Linked DNA regions of Homo sapiens: all the other regions are linked to region 1. The links are contacts of gene promoters, found by promoter capture Hi-C in human tissues and cell types (Jung and others, 2019). All regions are on one chromosome and are shown on one strand. The core of a region is centred on a gene start or on the middle of the fragment in contact, and the rest is flanking DNA. Distances in the headings are between cores, read along the strand shown. Region 1 holds the start of TMEM213 (transmembrane protein 213). Region 2 overlaps DGKI (diacylglycerol kinase iota). Region 3 overlaps DGKI (diacylglycerol kinase iota).

Evidence for each region. The method cuts DNA at HindIII sites, captures the fragments that hold promoters and counts their contacts. A contact is called where the count stands out against the background at its distance.
Region 2: a contact is called between a fragment that was not itself captured here and the fragment with the promoter of TMEM213 in region 1, in 1 of the 25 tissues and cell types used here (IMR-90 fibroblasts).
Region 3: a fragment that was not itself captured here is called in contact with the fragment with the promoter of TMEM213 in region 1 in 1 of the 25 tissues and cell types used here (aorta).

What each region holds. Positions count from the first base shown.
Region 1 is chr7:138,794,833-138,799,661 of GRCh38, forward strand. It overlaps TMEM213 (transmembrane protein 213), which reads left to right and starts at 3,162. Exons shown (of 3, transcript NM_001085429.2): 1 at 3,162-3,354. The coding sequence starts at 3,273. It overlaps ATP6V0A4 (ATPase H+ transporting V0 subunit a4), which reads right to left and starts at 3,364. Exons shown (of 22, transcript NM_020632.3): 1 at 3,202-3,364. RefSeq lists a silencer at 3,132-3,426. The HindIII fragment of the contact is 6,104 bases long and covers 1,355-4,829 here.
Region 2 is chr7:137,763,992-137,768,601 of GRCh38, forward strand. The region is part of intron 1 of DGKI (diacylglycerol kinase iota); the gene reads right to left. Among named protein-coding and RNA genes, the nearest start is that of DGKI, 81 kb to the right of the region's middle. The HindIII fragment of the contact is 5,465 bases long and covers 1-4,610 here.
Region 3 is chr7:137,739,761-137,744,632 of GRCh38, forward strand. All of the region lies in intron 1 of DGKI (diacylglycerol kinase iota), which reads right to left. Among named protein-coding and RNA genes, the nearest start is that of DGKI, 100 kb to the right of the region's middle. The HindIII fragment of the contact is 4,076 bases long and covers 1-3,773 here.

The DNA.
Region 1 (4,829 bases), core at 1,912-4,411:
GGCCACACACACACAGCCCTTTCTTTGGGGTTAATAGTTATCATTGGCCAGTCCAGCCCACCCTATTTTTTTTTTTTTTTTTTGAGACAGAGTCTCACTCTGTTGCCCAGGCTGGAGTGCAGTGGCACAATCACGGTTCACTATAACCTCCACCTCCCCAGTTCAAGTGATTCTCCTGCCTCAGCCTCCCAAGTAGCCGGGATTACAGGCATGCACCACCACGCCTGGCTAATATTTCTGAATTTTTTTAGTAGAGATGGGATTTCACCATGTTAGCCAGGCTGGTCTCGAACTCCTGACCTCAAATGAGCCACCTGCCTCAGTTTCCCAAAGTGCTGGGATTACAGGCCTGAGCCACCGTGCCTGGCCCAGCCTATACTATTTTCGAATAACAAAGTTCTTCCATCTGTAGATAGGAGAATGTTTGTCCTACAAACAGCTCATCTAAAACAGTCCGACATCACATAACAATGATAAAATAGGGAGGGAGGGCCAACACATTATCCCCCTCCTCCACATCCACTGCTTGCCAGAAAAGCTTTCCCTGATACGACTTGATAGGATGGTCTCAGCTTAGGCTGCAGATGCTGTTCAATCCACCACTACAATAACCCCAGGCAGGCCATCTTACATGTTTGCATACCTCAGGTTCCGATTCCATAGGAGGGACAGGCTCTGCTCACGTCAAACACATTAAAATGCACCCAGCGTCCCACATTAAATCGTTTCCGTTTAAACATTTCAAGTGAACTGTATAACTTTGCTTTTGAAACAATCATTTATTTTGCCCAGTTTTTGATTGTTCAAATTTTTGTTTGTTTGTTTGGGGACAGGGTCTCACTGTGTCACCCAGGCTGGAGTGCAGTGGTGCCATCTCAGCTCACTGCAGCCTCAACCTCCTGGGCTCAAGTGATCCTCCCACCTCAGCCTCCTGAGTAGCTGAGACTACAGGTGCACACTACCATACCCAAGTAATTTTTTTGTGTTTTTTTTTGTTTGTTTTGCGGAGGCAGGGTCTTACTATGTTGTGCAGGCTGGTCTTGAACTCCCTGGCTCAAGTGATCTTCCCACCTCGGCCTCCCAAAGTGTTGGGATGACAGGCGTGTGCCAATATGCCTGGTCTGTTCTTCAAATTTTGGATCTGAGAATATTTTCTCAGGTCTCAAACATTTTTGAGATCCTTGGAAATCTTGGGGATTCCACGTACCGCTGTTATCCCTAGTACCCATTGGATAAATCAGTCCTGCCCTGTGAAGCCCACTGCAGGGTTTACTTGTGAGGAAAACATCGAGGACAGCATTTGTTCTACTAAGCAGCGTCCTCTCTGTGGGGACCTTGAGTTCCTTGAGCACAAGGGCTGTGTGGTCTTTCTCACCCCCAGGTCCCCACACCGAGAGCCTGGCCTGGCATGCAACTGTTTAATGTTCAACTAGTGGTAATGCCTAAACTGGACTTCTGTGCACTGACTGAAAATCACCCTTCCTAGGGCACGTTGGCCCTATCCCCAAATCCAGGAACATAGGCCACCACTATTTTATATCTTAGAGCCAATTAGAAAAAAGTGCCTCCCCTGGGCTGTTACACTCCACTAGGAAATCTTTCCTTGGGGCTTACTCACGCCTTCTATGTCTTTCCACAGAGCTGGAGTCCACCCCTCACCCTTACCAGGCCCATTCATGCGCAGGAACACTTCCACACATGGCAGGCTGTGTGCACACAGACGATTCCCTCGCCTTTATAGGTGCTATTCCTTTGACTTGAAAAGCCCATCAACTCTAATCTGCACATACAAACTTCAGCACCCAGCCCAAATGTCACTTTCTCTGTGAATCCTTCCCCTATACCTCTCAGGCAGAGTTCATCCCATCCTCCTTTTTATTCCCATCACAGTGGAAGGTACCCCTATTTGAGTCTTGCCAGGTTGCATCAAATTTCTTTCTTCCGGGTTTGGTTCCCTGCTGCACTGTGCTCTCAAGGGGAAGAGGCGTGTCTCAGTCATCTCAGTCTCCAGTGCCTAGGATGAGACCTTTTATATACATGTGGGTCTTCAATAAATGTTTTAGACGGAATGCAGAGCTCTAGTCAAGTTACTCCTCAGCTCAAAATCTCTACAGAACCTTCCCCTTTGCTTCCTGACTTTGTTTCAAATTCCTCTACCAGGCACGCAGAAGCTTAGCCCACAGCTCTCCTCTTGCCTCCCCACCTCACATGCCTTGGCTCACCTGCGCTTCTGGGTGCTGCTGGTACAGCCACCCTCTGACACTTCCTTACCTCTGGACCTTTGCTCATCTGTCCCTCTACCTATAATGCCATCTTCCCCTCTCCCCCTGTCAAAATTCTAGCCATCCTTCAAGGCCCAGGCCAAATGCCATTTTCTTTTTTTTTTTTTTTTTTTTTTTGGAGATGGAGTCTCCCTCTGTCGGCCAAGCTGGAATGCAGGGTCAGGAGCATCTCAGCTTACTGCAACCTCTGTCTTCCGGGTTCAAGCGATTTTCCTGCCTCAGCTTCCCAAGTGGCTGGGACTACAGGCATGCACCACCACACCTGGCTAATTTTTGTATTTTTATTAGAGATGGGGTTTCACCATTTTGGCCAGGCTGGTCTTGAACTCCTGACTTCAAGTGATCCACCTGCCTCAGCCTCCCAGAGTGCTGGGACTACAGGGTGAGCCCCCATGCCCAACCTCAAATGCCATTTTCTTCTTGAAGCATCCCATCAGCAGATGTGGCCTCCACTGTTGAAACCCACAGTGCTTTATCCTCCCAAGCCATTCCTCAAACACGGTTCTGGGGTTGAATGATGCGTGTTTGTAATTAACGCACTTCGACAGCAGGTATCTCCCAACTTCAGCATAGTGGGTGCTCAGTGAATATTGGCCCAAATGGAATTGAGCATCCATGCTACACCTGCAGATGGGAGAGGCAGCAAACTCATGTCCCAGGAACCAGCATGACACAGATCTCTCTTGTCCTCCCCTTGTTTCTCAATAAGGACAATATTTGCGCTCAGGGGAGAAGGGCACAGCTTGCCCCTCCCTTCCTTCCTCAGCCAACGGTTTGGCTTCCCTTCTAGAGAGGTGAGAGAAGGTGTGACAGGCCAAGTTTCCTTTGCTCCACCCCATGGTGTTTCCCCCAAACACCCAGCATAAGTTCACCTCTGGCAGAGTTGCTTTCCAGCTCCTGCAGGTGGGAGTCGACTCACCTGCAGCAGGCACTCGGCACAACTCCGCAGGACCGGCTCACCTGCACCGGGCACTCAGCACAGCCTCCAGCATGCAGCGCCTCCCCGCTGCCACCCGGGCCACCCTGATCCTCAGCCTGGCCTTTGCCTCCCTCCACTCGGCTTGCTCGGCAGGTAGCGTTATGAGCTTTATTCATGGCCAGGCTGGGAAGGGGGAGGGAAGGAGGGAAGAGAGGTGGGAGGGAAAGAAGGAGGAGGGGGAAGATTCTTTGGCCAGGGTTGGTCCTGCGCAAAGGAAGGAGGAAACAGAACTTTCTCATCTGAAGGATTAGGCAGGGGGTGGGAGGTGGGGCTGGGGCAGGGGGGGTCTTAGGTTGGCCTGAGACGGAGATCAGATACTCAATTCCTCAGCTAAGGCAGGAGCAGCCACCTCTCTTGGCCTTTGCCACAAAGAAAGGAAAAAGTTATTTGCTGGAGTCTCACCCATCAGGGGACCAAAATGATATCTCTTGGTCCGCTGTGTCCTGAAGGCTCCTTCTCAGCCCCACTGGGCTGTCGTGCTTTGCAATCCTCCCTGTGCACATTTGTGTCTGACCTTCCCTTTCCTAAGTCCTCCATCCCTCCCTGCCCCTTGTACTTTCTCTGCGACTTTCACAAAACCTGACTGCCAGGAGGGCTGCCATTCACTGTCTCCCACCCTCCTGCCTCCCCGGGCACTGGAAATGCTGGGTTATCTCCCCATTTTCCTGTGGAGGCTGGAAGGCTGATCTACATCCCCTGCCTTGCCCTGCCAGGCCGGGTTCTGCAACTCACGGCAGAGGGACCTTGGTTACCATCTTCTGCTCCTGGCTTTGATCTTGTTCTCAGCCACCTCAGAACACCACCACACTCTCTATGCCCTGCAACACTCCTGCTCCCAAAACCAACCCTGCCCCCAAAGTCCTGTGTCTGCCCCTCTCATCCTCAGACTCTCTTCTGTAGCCACTGCCAGGGGTGTTGGTGTTGAGGTTCAAGACGTGCACTCTTGAGCCGCTGAGCCTGAACCCAGGTCCAGCTTCCATGACTCACTAGCTATGCGACCTCGAGCAAATGACTTTACCTCTCTATGCCAAGTTTCCTCCTTTATCTCATGGGGACAATCATAGTGCTTGTCAAGACGAATTGATGTAATTTCATGTAAAGAACTTAGAAATAGCCCATAGAACACACACAGTGAATGTCAGCAATTATGGTAAGCACATTCATTTTATTTTCCAACTTCACCCCTCCCCAAATAAGAGTGCTGAGTTTCTTTCTACTTACCCCGACAGTGCCTTGCTTATGATGGGAGCTCAGAATCAGAAGACAAGTTTAACTGCACTGAATCGTTGGGTCTTCCCAGCAGCTTTTCTTGTGGAATAGCCCCAAGTAGGGCCAGTCCCTCCCTCGCTTCTGGCTCTGCTTATAAGGGAGGAGGGCGATGTTTAAATTCTTAGGAATTTTCACCGGGGCTATTCCATTTGAACCACAGAAAATTGCTGATATTGAACAATTTTCACCTATAACAATGGCAATTTCATAAGCTCGAACCTAACCCTAGCATTCAGCCAACTAGGGTTTTTTTCCACTCACTTTGGAAGAGGACAACTTCCATTCTAGGTGTAGAGGTG
Region 2 (4,610 bases), core at 976-3,475, 1.0 Mb before region 1:
TTTGCATATTGTCACAACATTTATTTTAAGCCCCTAAAAGTGTCAAGTGATGGCTCCCACATGGACTTTGATCAGACACTATCACAGATCTAGGCCCAGAGCCCACGAATATTTACTAAATATGCAGTAGGTGGATGCTCACCCTAGATGTGAACGGTGTTGCCCTAGGACAGATCATATTCCTTAAAGTGCCCCTCCCCTCCTCTGACTCTTTGTCCAGGGTGGCACCCTGGGAAGCTGTGTTTTTAAAAAGCTTCCTGAGCACACCAGAATTATTGTTCCAGGTGAACAGATTCTGAACCTTTAAGTTAATTTCATCCTTCAGAAGGAACTTTTACATTGAGAAAGGGTCAGAGTTCCTTTTTCTGCCCTCTTTTTGCCAAATATACACATCTAAAAGAATTTGCAGAGAGCCAGGATGGCTCCTGTTTAATTTGTTTCATATATTCTCTAACATAGCATCCCTTGTAGCAGTACTCAATAAGGATCTGAAAGTTCATTTCGTTCATTTCCACCCGACTTCTCTTGTGCTGGTCCACAAGAGAAGTTCATTCAAGCCCTGCTTAGATGCCTCCAAAGGCAGACCACTCACCACCCCAAAAGGCAGATGTCCTCTACTGACAGTGCTCTTCGGCAGTATGGCCTTTCCTCCTGGTTTGTCTAGGGTACCTGCAACAGCCCTAGTTGGTACCTTTTGTCCTGTTTTATTGAATAAGCCTGGCTTTCACTCTGAATGTCCTGGTTTGAAAGATAATACAGTGCCCATATTATTTTCCTGCAGCTCAGGATAAACTGTGAATGCCTTACCCTGAGCTATGAATATGTTCTCAATCCCATCCCCACCTCCTACCTCTCCAATCTCTTCCTCCAGTACTTCCTTCTTTCTGCCCCCTACCTATACCACAGAGAAATGGTCTCCTTCCACATTTTACCCAAGAGGCTACAGGGGCTTCCAGGGTAACTTGCCTAAAGTTTCACAGCTAATAAGGAGAAGACAGTTTTCTTTTCCATCTGAATATACTCAGTTCCTTCCATGGTTTCTCCTGAGACATGCTTCCAGACCCTCAGGCACCTGCTAATTGCCCTTCTCTGGGCAAACATGAGGCGCCAGGTGCAGTCCAACCATTGAAGAGGGGTGTTACTTCCTGAGTTCAATACATTAACGTTCCATTAATGCAGCTTTTTAGTTGCCTCAGTCAGATTTAGTGGCTTATACTGAGCTTTTAGTCAAATAAAACTTCAGTGTCTTTCTCTACCAGAACTACTGCCAGTAGATTTTTTTCTCCCACCATTATGTATCGTTGATTTTTTTATTCCAAAATAAGATTTTACATTTATCCCTTTGAAATGTCATTGTGTTATTTTTAACCCAGCATTCCAGCATATCTATATCATTTTGAGACATATTTTTGTTTTTGTCATCGATTACATTGGCCATCCTTTCCAGTTTTGTGTCTGCCACAAATTTGATGAGCACACTTCTTGTGCCCTCTTCCAACTTGCTGGCAAAGTCACTGCCCAGAGCAAGTCCAAGATCTGAGAATTTTAAAATGACCTCACTAATGATATTCCTTGTCTTGTCTGTGATGTCACAGTCTTCCAAAGAGCCTTCCTGCAGAAACCGTTCACTTGTCAAGGTTTAGAACCACTGCCACCATCAGCCCTTTGTAATGATAAGTCAACATGAGAGTCTTCATAGAGATGATGCAGCTGAATCCCACGTCGTTTACTAAACAATTCAGCTAAGTAGCCCTCAGGTCTGGATGGACTCTAAGGACAGGCAGCATACGATACGGAGGCCTCCCGGAATCCTGCAGCCCCAAGTCACCCAACCTTCCCACTGGCTAAAGAGAGAAAGGAGACACACTCTATTGTCAATTTCACCCCCAAAGCTTTATCTATGTTCCTAGGAGAAGTCACATCTATACCTTACACTGGTATCAGGCATTTAAATCAGTATGGCAAGTCAGGTTTTCAGAAAATATCACTGAAAGGAAAAGGCCAAGAGAAGCTACCTGAACAGGAGATTTCCTAAATGTCAGATCTAGTTCCTGCCTGAAACCAGCTCTCAGCCCCTTTCATTTACAGATGAAGATAAGAGGAGAAAAGAGCTAGAACAAGATTGTTCAGGACTTACGATCCTAAGAGGAAAGGAAGAAAGGTATACACCAGGAAAGCTCAAACAGAATGAAAAGTGAACCCTCCCGTTATTCTGAGACAAATATCATGGGATCCTCCAGCCTAACAGGAAAATGAAGCAAACTCTAAGAAACAAATATTTCCAATGGTGATCTAATCGGACTTCCATCAAATATGGTTGTGTCAACGTGATGTTCATCTCTACTCCCTTCCCAACCTCCAACATAATGAAAGTAATTAAGTTTTTTTAAAAAGTAAAGTTCCACAAGGACACAGAGAAATGGAGAGGTAGAAATAAATGTTAACAGTCTTCTGGAAGATGGAAAGTGAATTGACAAGTTATTACTAACCTATTAGCACAAAGAAAGTTACAAATCTCAAAGAGCAAAACCAAGAAAAAGCAAGCCAATTTGCACGGAGCCCCTCAGAAAAGCTGAGGAATTGGAGGAGGAATTGGAAGTGTCATGGACTTCCTCCAGGGCAAAGAGAATCTTCCTTATTCCCTCCTTCCCACTCAGCACACCCAGGGCAGGACAGGAGGAATTTCTTTTTCTAGAGAAACTGAAAGAGGGATCCTCAGGAACTAGGGACTCAAATAGGGAGGGCTTGCAGGGTGGTGAGGGTGGTGCATGGGTAAACGTGAGTCTGAAAAGAGAGAATTGAGTGAAAGTCAACACCCACAATGAGATCTTTCTGTTTCCCACTCCAAACTTGGCTCCCACAACACCTGCAGCAGGTGCACAGCCCCAGGAACAAGTCTGGGTGGTTCTATTATGGAGATTCTGGCCAGCCCAAGGGAAAAGCTTCCAGATGCTGACATCTGAGGATCCTCCAAGTGAACAGATCTGTGATCCTAGGCCACTCTGCAGTGGGGGGCCACTACCAGACGAGCCGGGGCCACCCACAGAAGGTGTCCTGTCAGCTCTTCAGAGCCTTATTCATGTCTGTGACCTGATGGGGGGGCCACTACCAGATGAGCCTGGGCCACCCACGGAAGTTATCCTGTCAGCTCTTCAGAGCCTTGTTCATGTATGTGACCTGATGGCTGCAGATCTCCTGCCATTGCAGGAAAGCCACCAGTATGAAAGACAGGGCCAAAGTACTCAATTAGGAAGAAAGAACTGAAAAATAAAAGAACAGAACAAAAATAAGAAACAGCTACTGGGCTTTTAAAGTGTCACAGGGGAAAAAAAACTCTTTGGTAAGAGTTACAAGATAAAGTTAAAGCAATCTCCCAGAATGTAGGTCAAAGGTAATGAAGAGATAAAGGTAAGAAAATTAGAGGATAAATTCAGGACATACAACTTCCATCTAATAAGAGTTCCAAAAGAGAAGAGAAGGGAAGAGAAGAGAAGAGAAGAGAAGAGAAGAGAAGAGAAGAGAAGAGAAGAGAAGAGAAGAGTAGAGTAGGAGGAAGAGGAAGAGAAGAGAAGAGAAGAGAAGGAGAAGGAGAAGAGAAGAGAAGAGAAGGAGAAGAGATAATAATATACATGTGGCTCCACTATAAATAGTATTTGTAAAATCTTAATCATTTAAAAAGTGTAGTGGTTAAAAGTAGACTCTGGAGCCTCGTTTACTTTGGTTTGAAGTCTGGCTCCACCAGCTACTACCTACATGACTTTGGAAAGTTAGTTAACCCAGGTCTCAATGTCCGTATCTGCAAAATGGAAAGAATAACAGTATCTGCTTTACATGGTTGCTATAAAGATTAGTTAATACATGTCTAAAGCTCTTCGACAGTGTCTTGCACCCAGAAAATACATAATAAAGGTGAGCTATTTTTAAAAATATTATATAATATTCCAGTATGAGAGGCAGAAGGATCACCTGAAGCCAGGACTCCAAGACCAGACTGGGCAACACAGCAAGACCCTGTCCCTACAAAACAAACACAAACAAACAAAAAACAAATAATCTGATCATGAGTCTAACCAAGAACTTTGATCTACATATATGAGGAAGCTACAGAAAGTGGGAGGATGTTAAGTGGACACAAGATGTTCATCTAAAATGGTACCATCTCATAGAAAGATGATGGTATTAGGTCGGTACCTAATACTATCATCTTGGCAAAACCAAAATTACTTTTGCACCAACCTAACAGATAATGTCTACAATTGGCAAACCAAATGATCATAGTATAAACATAGTATTTAGAAACACAGATATAAATAAATACCAGAAGGATAAGCTAGAGAAATGGAAAGTTGCTGTCAGGGGAGCAGGACTCAATAGTGGGGAGGGAGTGAGGCATAACAATGTGAATACTTCATTTTTAGAATCATTTAAAAACACACATATTTTAAATAGCTTCGTCACACTGAGCTAAAACCCAGAGGGATGACAAGAGACGACTCTCAAGAAGCAGCTTCTGCAAAAGCTAAGCACCAATTCTGAGCAAAAAATATCCTTTCCAGCTGCTTTAAAACCAAACAAAAAGTAAGCAAAGGGCACATTTCCAGGGGAAAGGG
Region 3 (4,872 bases), core at 486-2,985, 1.1 Mb before region 1:
GAGAAAGTTGTTTTTGGTCCCTGTTTTTCTTATTTGTCAATAGAGCATATGAGAGTGATCATCCACTTTCCAGTTTATTTTTGCCACTTGCAGAATCGAAATGGCAGTCAAGAAAAGGTTGAACCTGAGGTCTGTCTCTGCTAAGTGAGAACTACTGTTGGTTGAACTATTCCCACTGGTGTTGCCCAGTGATTCCGCTCCACCATGTCTTTGAAGGTTGGTAGGGGAAAAGGTGAAGCATCTCATGGCAACAAAGACTATCAACCTCACTCTGTTGGAATAAAGCTAGTCAACCTACCACTGTATTTCACAACAATTCAAATCCAGGTATCTCTCCTACTTAAATCCTTACATCAGGATTTGGAAATTCAGGATTCTGACAAATTGAAGCACAAATTCCATTTATGCAACCTTGAAGAGATACATACATGCAGAAATCCACATTCTTGGGAATAAGTTTAAAGTATCTTGGTTTATCAATTCTGGAGGAAAGACCAGCTTCCTCTGTCTGTCAATTTTGATTTTATTCCCATCATTCTGGGCAAAAAGTGAGGTTAAAACAGTACTGCCTGACATGAGTTCAGATGTTTGGTGTGAGGAATCTCTACAGGGAGGACCCCTGAGGTCAGATTCATAAGCTCCCTGGGGCCTACAGCCTGACTGCTTTGCATCTCCACTTCAGTCCCCTCCAAAGTATGTCAGCAATGGCAGGTGTATGGTGTAAAGCTATCAAGCTGTTTCTTGGGATTCACCACAGTCACACTTCCCTACTTCAAAACCAGAGAATCAGAGGTCGTCTGCAAGAAATGGAGACTAGAAATTAGCCAGACCAGCCCAATACTTTTAATCCCCTCCCCTACCCGATATCCCCGCACAAAAACAACCATAACAACTAAGCAACATGCTTGGCTGTTCAGTATGTTCAAATGTCATGTGAATATTTAACCAGGGAAATATCTCTGGAAAACGGCTATGATTTGCTGGTGACATAATGCTCAGCACATGACTATAATTTAAAATAACCATCCAATATAAACTAAATTCATGAACAATGAGGCTTTTCTCATGCAAAAGCTGGTCTATACAGCCACACCCTATTTTTAAGGTAATTATAAGATTGGAAGTAGAACAAGCTTCAGAAGTGACTCTGGGTCCAAATCCTAATCCTGTCACACGCTGAGTAACTAGGTAAATGAGCTCACCTCTCTGAGCCTGAATTTCCTCACTGATAAAAAGGGTGGCTAAGTCTTAATTTTTTTTTTATTATTTTGAGAACTAGAAAAATAAATTTAAATAGGCTAAGGAGTGCTTGTCCGAGAGTGATGGGACATCACCACTGTTCCTTGCTCCAAGTCATTCAGCTCACCTTTCTTGCCTTTCCACCAAACCAGAAACACCAAAAGGAGAAAAGCAATCCAGCAGGTGCTATGCACAGGCAATGTCTAGCTGAAACATCTTCTTGATTTTAATTAGTAAAAGATAATAAGAGTGCTAAAGTCAGGTGCGCTCTTCCGTACATAAACATCAGAGTCATTATTCATGCCAGCAGTTTTACAGATGCCTCTTCACACAAACCTGACATTTACAATACTTGGAGAAAATGCAGATGGACAAGTGAAGTGCTGAGGTTTGAAAAGAGGGCATGCGAAAAACATTACCCACACTTAAAGAAGAAAATTAATCCCACAAGGTTCCTTCTGGCTTATCCCAACTTCTGATTTTGAATATGTCATGTCCCTCTGTACACTGACTCCTTCCTTTTAGGATCACAGAGGTTATGGTTTCAGTGGAAAGATTTCATTGGAATGCATGGTGTGGTGCTCTAAGAGCATCTGTGTCTGAACGATAAGATGAAACAAACCACAGGTGCTGAATCTGCACAGAAACCAGCTCGCCAAACATGACCACCTGTACCCAAATATCTATTTGAATCACTGAGAATGACAGTACCTCATGGGCACAGAGGTTGAATCTAGTTAAGATAATTCTCTCAACAAATTTGTATGCTCACTCCAATTTCATGAATGTGCAACAGTGGGTGATCTGGAAAAGCATGGTCAACAGTCAACAAGAATATCATCTCTTGATTCTAGCAATGCTGAAAACCATAGGGGCTGCTTTCTAGTAATGAAGCTCTCAGTGCTTTTACATCTATAAATACAATGTAAAAAAAAATTCTTACTTAAAAAAATTCCTGTCAAAAATGTATATTAGCCTTATGGATAGCTGGAGAAAAGTTATGAGTACACAGCACGTCCTTAGTGCCTGACTCCTAGTTTCTCCAAACCAATGGAAAAATCAAATATCTATTCTTTAATAACGATCTCCCATAAACAGTTCCTGGGTAGAGTCGGATTTATAGTGTACCTTCTTCCAAACAGGAAAAGAGATAAACTCACACTGTTCTCATATGCCAAAGGCATTTCTTTGGCTCAGAGGTTGTTCCCAAACTGATGACTGCCATCCCTCCTTCCACCCCCAACCCCCACCCACCTACTTCCATTCCAATTCTGTCAGCTCTGGCAGTGGTTGGTGCGCTGTTACATCCAAAAGGATAAAAAAAAAATAAAGGAAGAAACAGAACTTCAAAATCCTTCCTAGGTAGGGCCCCTTCTGCAATAGGAAAAGAAGCAGAGAACCTCAAATTTGCTCTGGGCAGAAACAGAGCCTTAATTAAAGAAGTGCCAGTGATCTAGCCTGGGACCCACTGCTATGGCCAGATGTACACAAGAATGCCCACAGTAGCTCCCGTCACTCCCACTCACTCCCACAGCCACAAGAGACCTTAATATGCAGACCCATGTGCACCCGTAAGTCATTTCCAAGTCAGAGACAGGTTTGGACCCACATAATGAAATTAATACCCATGCTTAAAACACACACTTATGAGAATGAAAGCCTAGATGTATAAATAGCCAATGTTTTACTCAATGTTACATCAAGAAAGGTACTCAGCTACCGGGGGAAAAAAAATAAAGTCAGAAAGGAAAATTTAATTGTGTGAGTGGGTTAACAGGCTTGATCCCAGAAGTAACCACTAAAATTTTATGCATAATGGAATTTATTACAAAAGATAATGAATAAAAAGATAAAAATGGAAAAATCGAAGGCTGTTTTATTACAGTCAAAGCATCTAACAAAACGAAGTTCTAGTGGGAACTGGGCTTTAAAATTATAGTGAAGTCACAAATAGAAAACAAAAAAGAGCAGGAGTCGCTAATCTTGAGTCACATAAAATAGACTTTAAACCAACAAGAGTAAAAAAGGACAAAGAAGGACACTACATAATGATAAAGAATTCAATTCAACAAGAAGACTTAAATATCCTAAATATATACGTACCCAACATTGGAGGACCCAGATTTATACAACAATTACTTTTAGACCTAAGAAAAGACTTTGACAGACACACGATAACAGTAGGGGACCTCTAACACATTGACAGTATTAGACAGATCACTGAGGCAGAAAACTGGCACAGAAATTCTGGACTTAAATTGGACACTGAACCAACTGGATCTAATTGACATCTACAGGATACTTCATCCAGCAGCCAAAGAAAATACATTCTTCTCATCTGCACATGGAGCATACTGTAAAAAGTACCACATGCTTGATCATAAAACAAGTCTCAATCAATTTTTAAAAAGTAGAAATTATACAAAGCATCTTCTTGGACCATAGAGGGATTAAAAATAGAAATCAACACTAAGAGGAACCTTCAAAACCATAAAAATATATGTAAACTAAACAACTTGCACATGAATGACTTTTGGGTAAACAACAAAAAATTAAGGCAAAAATCAAAAAATTATTTGAAACAAATGAAAACAGAAACACAACATACCAAAACGTCTACATCAAGAAGATAGAAAAGTCCTAAATTAACAATCTAAACTTCACACATAAAGGAACTAGAAAAACAAGAACAAACTAATCTTGGCCGGGCGCGGTGGCTGACACCTGTAATCCCAGCACTTTGGGAGGCCGAGGCAGGTGGATCATGAGGTCAGGAGATCAAGACCATCCTGGCTAACACAGTGAAACCCCGTCTCTGCTAAAAATACAAAAAATTAGCTGGGCGTGGTGGCAGGCGCCTGTAGTCCCAGCTACTCGGGAGGCTGAGGCAGGAGAATGGTGTGAACTCGGGAGGCAGAGGTTGCAGTGAGCCGAGATAGCACCACTGCACTCCAGCCTGGGTGACAGAGTGAGACTCCATCTCAAAAAAGAAAAAAAAAAAAAACTAATCCCAAAGCTAGTAGAAGAAGAGAAATAACTAAAAGCAGAGTAGAACTAAATGATATTGAGACCCAAAAACCATACAAAGGGTCAAAAAAACAGATAATTGGTTCTTTGAAAGGATAAATAAGATTAATGGACTGCTACCTAGATTAACAAAGAAAAAGAGAAGATCCAAATAAGCACAATCAGAAATGACAAAGATATCACAACCGATCCCACAGAAATACAAAAGATTATCAGAAATTACTGTGAATATCTCTATGCACACAGACTAGAGAATCTTGAGAGAATGAATAAATTCCTAAAAGCACACAACCTCTGAAGATTGAACCAGGCAGAAGCAGAGATCCTGAACAGACCAATAACATGTAAAGAAACTGAATCAGTAATTAAAAAAATATAGACATATACCATCCAAAAAAACCTGGGACCACATGGATTTACAACCAAATTCTACCAGATATACAAAGGAGAGCTGCTACCAATCCTACTGATACTCTTCCAAAAAAATCAAGGAGGGTCTCCTCCTAACTCATTCTACAAAACCAGTATCATCCTGATACCAAAATCTGATAAAGACACACCAAGAAAATAAAACTATAGGCCAATATCCCTGATGAACATAGAAGC